Linked DNA regions of Homo sapiens: region 2 is linked to region 1. Evidence: promoter capture Hi-C in 16 types of primary human blood cells and fetal thymus (Javierre and others, 2016). All regions are on one chromosome and are shown on one strand. The core of a region is centred on a gene start or on the middle of the fragment in contact, and the rest is flanking DNA. Distances in the headings are between cores, read along the strand shown. Region 1 holds the start of EGFLAM (EGF like, fibronectin type III and laminin G domains). Region 2 overlaps OSMR-DT (OSMR divergent transcript).

Region 1 (2,846 bases), core at 95-2,594:
AGCCAGGGGATATTTCATTCTTAAAAGAGGAGTAGAAATCCTGTGTGTGTGTGTTTGGGGGGCTGGGGAGGGGAGAAGAATATATCAGTCAACATTGTTTCCTCCCGCGCTCCCAAACATAGGCTAACTGTGAAGAGCCAGGACGCCCACCGAGTCCTGGCAGCGTTGCAAGGTGGGGAGGGGGCGGGCGCGGTCCTGTCGCTAGTGACTGCAGATTTCCTCTGCGGGGCACTTCCTACGGCCTTTGATCTTTCCCCAGGAACTGCCGAGGGCCGCGTTTGCCTCTAAGTTTATTCCCTCTTGGTTTATTTATTGTATCTGCTTTCTCTTCTCGCTGGTTTGGAGGTCAGAACGCCAGTATGCAACGGGACTTGTGTCCCAGGCAGGGTCTCCCCTCTCCAGGCACTACCGCGAAATCTGGCAAAAGGTACATTTTACTGAGTCCTAGGGCAGCAAATTCAGCGGCGGAGAAAGAGTCTTTCTCCATTCAGGAGACAACCCAGGAAGCCCGATCCCGGGATCAGAGGCCAGGACCCCGCCCCGGCCCCCTGCCCCAGGCCCAGCTGGGCGCCGCCCAGGGGCTTTTCTCGGTCCGCCTGGGGGCTCGAGCTCGCGTCCCTCCCTAAGACGCCAGGCTTAACTTGGAGTTTCATCTCCTCCCCAGGAGGGTCTCAAGTTGCCTTCCTCTGCCGGGAAGGGCCCCCACTCCCCCGCTCCAGGCCCTAATCTCCACCCGGCGTCCCAGTCTGAGCGGCCTGGCCTCAGCTCTCCATCTGCGAGCCTTAAATCCCATTTATCTTCTTAGCGCCTCAGACCCGGACGGTCCCGCCTCTCTTCCTCTCACCCCCACCCCACTTGCAAATCACAGACCCCCGTCTACCCCTCGCATCCCCCAAGTGCGCTGGACCAACTACAGCAACCTTTGAGGTGTTAGAAAAAGTCGCCTAGAGGGGCGCGGCAGGAGGAGGGCCCAGGTGGGGTGGAGGGGGGGCGCCCCAAGATTTCAGGGTGAGGACCGCGGAGGGTCCTGGACCCGCAGTCGCCTAACTCCTGCCCTGCGTCTCCAGTGCTTGAAGTCGGTCCCTCCCAGGTCCCCAATCTAGGTCACCAGCGGGGAAGGGCTGCGCTGGGGGTCGCTAGAGAGGGTGAGGGGCGGGCTGTCTGCTTCCGAGGTGGGCGAGGAGTGAAGGTTTCAGGGCCTGTCCCTCTCACTTCCACTCGATTGTAATTTCATCCCCGGGCCGGTCGAGCCTCCCTCCCTCCCGCGGCCAGCCCTTCCCTCCCAGTCGGCCTCCTTCGTCGCCCCCGCCCCCGCGAAAAGCCCTGCAGCTTGCAGCCGGCTTCACTCGCGCACGCCGACCTCCCGGCTGCAGTCCTACCTCTTGGAACTACCCGTGTTTCCGGGCCCAGCCCTCGCAGCCCCCCACCTCCTCGCCCCGGCCCGGGGATCCGTTGGGGCCGCGTCCCCCACGCGCCCCCGGAGACGCCCTTTCCGTGTGCGCCCGGGACTTGGTGAAACTTTGCAGGCGCCGGCTGCGAAATGGATTTAATCCGAGGCGTCTTGCTCCGGCTCCTGCTCCTGGCTTCCAGCCTCGGACCCGGCGCGGTGTCGCTCCGAGCGGCCATCCGAAAACCAGGTAATGCGCTCCTCCGCCCAGAGCCACCACGCCCCGAGCGCCCCTGCTGGGCTCCGGGGCGAGGACACAGAGCGGGCAGCGCACCGCCTCCCTCTCCCCGACCAACGTCTGCTTAACTCGCTTCAGCTCTGCCAGGAGCTGAGAAAAGACGCAAACCTCGCCCTCCCCCGAGCCCGGGCGGCGCTAGGGATATTTATTTATTAAAAGAATGATCAATTTTCCAGACATAGTAGATAGAGGTGGTGGTCCCCGTGTTTGACCGCAGAGAGCTGACAGTTGGGACAGCGATCGTGCTGTCTCAATTACAGAGGATGGCAACCATGCAGAGGAGTCAAACCAGCCCCTCCTGCGTCTCCAAACATTTTACTCAATTCATATTGTCCAGAGCCCAGCCATTTCCTGTTAAGTGTCTGAAGGGTTGCCTGGAGCCCCCTCTGCCCATCTCGGGTCCTGCCCACGCGTTGTGCAGGGATGTGGACTCTGCTCTTAGCATCCTCTTCCACTCTGGGGCCATTTGTTCAGAAGGAAGCACCCAGTGGGTTAATTTTACCGTGTTTTGAACTCCTGTCTTTGCTTTGGCATTTAAACAAAGAAATGTACGTTGTAACCTGTTATAAGGGACTGGGAATTGGGGGAGAACTTGAAACCATAATAACGTGTGTTTCCTCTAGCTGCATATAGGTAAAAAGTCTTCGTTTATTTTGGTCTACTTTGATTTGGCCTATGCTGTGAGATTATTCAAAGTAGAACATTCTGAACAATGAAGTTCTAAACATTGTTTCCCAAATAACGATTTTTATTACTTTTTGCTGGGACCATATTTAGAATTCTGAAAAATCTGTTTTGTCTTAACTTACTTTGTAAGGGAGGTTGTCTTATGGGATTAATTATATCTTATGAACAATGGAAAACAATATTACTTTTATTTGAATGCAGTCTGCAAAACCTCACAGAAAGTGCAGTTTGTCTTCACAAACGTTTCTGTAAGAAAGAGGCAAAGCTAGGAAAATTTATCAGAGGGCAGAGAAAATCGTCTTAGCGGGATCCCATGTGAATGCTTAAATATTTTCGCATTGAAACTCTCTATCTGGAAATATGACTTGTTGCATTTCGGCTCTGGAAGCGTCCTCAGTCTTTGCACTGTGTCTCTTATTACCAGCACTTGTTACCTGCCTTGAAATCTAAGGTCATTATCATAATCTACACCAT
Region 2 (2,846 bases), core at 218-2,717, 580 kb after region 1:
CTAATTTAGCAAAGGAAACAGTTCATACTAGCTCCTCCCAATAACCTAGCCACTTAGCAGATATAACTACAATTGCAGGGAGTGCTACTTTCAGCCATTGCTGAGTAGCTCTGTTTAATTGACTGCCCCTCCCCAACATATAACAATATAAAACACTAGAAAAATATTGTTAAAAATTAAAAACAATTATCGGCAGTGGAGAGTGACCAACACCAGGCAGATTGTGGAGGAAAGTCAACACTTGGCAGAGGAAAGGCATGGAGCAACTTTCCCAAATTTTATGACCCTCAGCCCAAGACTAGTGCATGTCTGTGCAATGTGAGGTAGCTAAAACTCTGTTAGAAAATATGCAATATTTCTAGTTTGAAGAACCAGGGGTCAGGGTTCACAGCAACAACATTATTTGGAAAGTGAGGCGGGAAAACATAAAGGAGGGAGCAAGAGAGGAAGAAGCCCAAATTCTGTATTTAAAATAAATACCAATTATTGGATAATCTCTGAACCATGCTTGTGCAAGGCAAACTCAAAGCAGCCTGGTCAACATTAAAAAGTGAATTCAGATTTGAGCTTCTACTTACTGTAAGCAATATCAGGTTTGCAGTTTGAGTTTAACCACACTGCTTGCCATTTTAAAAGATAATCAGTGTCATTGGAGGAATAGAACAGAATCTTCATCACATAATATTTATAACGCACAGGTTGCACTCCAAAATTATTTGACAATCCAAAAATAGGTAAATAAAAAAAACAGGAAAATGTAATCCATTCTTATAAAAGAAAAAAATCAGTGGAGATTGACTAAAAGATGATGTAAATATTGGAATAATGAAGCAATGTTTTAAAAGCAGCAACTATAATAACTATGCTCAATGAAGCAAAGGAAAATATGTTCATAATAATAAAAAGAATAGGGACAACCAGTATAGAAATAGACAATATATTTTAAAAGAACAGATTGAAATTCTAGAACTGAAATATACCATATATATGACACAAAATTTACTAGATGGATATAATAGCCCAACGAATATAACACAAAAGGAATTTGTAAGCTTAAAGATAGTTCAATAGAAATTATTGAATCTGAAGAGCACAGAAAAAAAGTTGAAAAACAACAGAGGCTCATGGGCATTTAGGACTATATTAAGGGGTCTGACATACTTGTAGTCGGAATTTCAAAAAGATAAGAAAGATAATGGTGCAGAAAAGGTACTAAAAAGATATACAGGCTGAAAAATTCTCCAATTTGGTAAAAGACATAAATTTATAAATTCAAGAAGCTTAGCAAATGCCAGGCAGGGTAAATAATAATTTTAAAACTTCTAAGCACATAGTTGATAAACTATTGACAATCAAAGATAATGAGAAAATATTTAAACCAGAGAAAAAATGACACATTATATTGACAGAGGAAAGAAGAATCAAATAATGGCTGACTTCTCATCAGAAGCAATGAAAGGCAGTAAAATGTAGAACAGTATCTTTAAATAGTTGAAAGAAAATAGAATTCTATCCAACAAAAATATTCCTTGAGGACGAAGTGAAATAAAGATATTTTCAAATAAAATAAGACTAATACTATGTATCTCCAATAGACTTCCAATAAAAAATATACTAAAGTAAGTTTGTTAGGCTTACAGAAATGCTACCAGAGAGAAGCTTAGATCTTTGGGAAGGATTTAAGAACATTAAAGGTAAATATGTGTATAAATATAAAAGAGTAGTTTTCCTCTTAATTTCTTTAAAATACATACTATATTGTGGGTTTTATCTTGTCTGTAGATGTAATACACTTTACAACTATAGTGTAAAGGATGGGGTGTGTGGTTAAATGGACCTATTAAGTGAAAAGGTACAATACTATTTCAAGTACACAGTGAAATTTAAGAATGTACACTGTAATCCATAGAGAAAACATTAAGACATCATGCAAAGAGAAATAAGAAAAAGACAAAGGCAAATAAAAATGAAATTTAAAAAGCGTTCAAAGGCAGATATGGTGGCTCATGCTTGTAATATCAGCTACTTGGGAGGCTGAGGCGGAAGGATCGCTTAAGGTCAGGAGTTTGAGACCAGCCTGGGCAATGGAGTGAGACCCCAACTCTAAAAAAATTAAAATGGAAATATAAAAAGATAAAAAGTATTTATATAGTCCAGAAAAAAAAGAAGAAAAAGAAGAATAAAAAAACAAAACCAGAGAGAACAAAACACAAAACCTATAGTAAAATGGTAGGCTAAACACAAGCATATCAATAACTGCCTTAAATATAAGTCTACTAAACACTCTCTATCAAATTAAAATGCAGAGATTGTCAGTCAACTTCTAAAAAAAAGTCTCAACTATATGTTTTCTGTAAGAGATTCAGTTTAAATATAAACACAACTATAGACTTATTTCGGATCAACCTTAAGCCAATAGTTTTCAAATATCCAGAAAGTTCCCATCTAATTCTCTCCAAAGTATTTCTCTCTCACTGTATTAATGTTCTAAACTTTAGCATTAACAACTGCACTCAAATTTAGTAAGTGCCATAACCACAGGCCAAGAGAATAAAAGCAGCTATCAATATTCAATATTTTCCCTAAAGTCCCTGAGGGAAAAAAAGTAAAAGATCCAGGGAGGTTCTCCTCATTGTCTGGTTTCTGATGACTTCTGGAAGAAGGTGTGAGCACAATTACAACATCTGGAAGAGGGTGGAATGTGCAAAATCCATCCATCAATCAATCAATCAATTTTCAGATAATATCTAGTTTAATCAAGGAATTCCTGTAGAATTATTGTGGATAATATTATTCATCACTTAAGAGATTTTGAAAGAAAAGCAATTCATCATTAAGTAATTATA

The links. The method cuts DNA at HindIII sites, captures the fragments that hold promoters and counts their contacts. A CHiCAGO score of 5 or more calls a contact.
Region 2: a fragment that was not itself captured here is called in contact with the fragment with the promoter of EGFLAM in region 1 in 1 of 17 cell types (M1 macrophages); the score reaches 5.3 in M1 macrophages.

The regions. Positions count from the first base shown.
Region 1 is chr5:38,257,215-38,260,060 of GRCh38, forward strand. EGFLAM (EGF like, fibronectin type III and laminin G domains) reads left to right here and starts at 1,345. Exons shown (of 22, transcript NM_152403.4): 1 at 1,345-1,637. The coding sequence starts at 1,541. LOC124900966 (a long non-coding RNA gene) reads right to left here and starts at 1,452. Exons shown (of 2, transcript XR_007058739.1): 1 at 1,380-1,452; 2 at 1-417. RefSeq lists an enhancer at 1-476. The HindIII fragment of the contact is 7,534 bases long and covers 1-2,846 here.
Region 2 is chr5:38,838,075-38,840,920 of GRCh38, forward strand. All of the region lies in intron 1 of OSMR-DT (OSMR divergent transcript), which reads right to left. Among named protein-coding and RNA genes, the nearest start is that of OSMR-DT, 6.3 kb to the right of the region's middle. The HindIII fragment of the contact is 379 bases long and covers 1,279-1,657 here.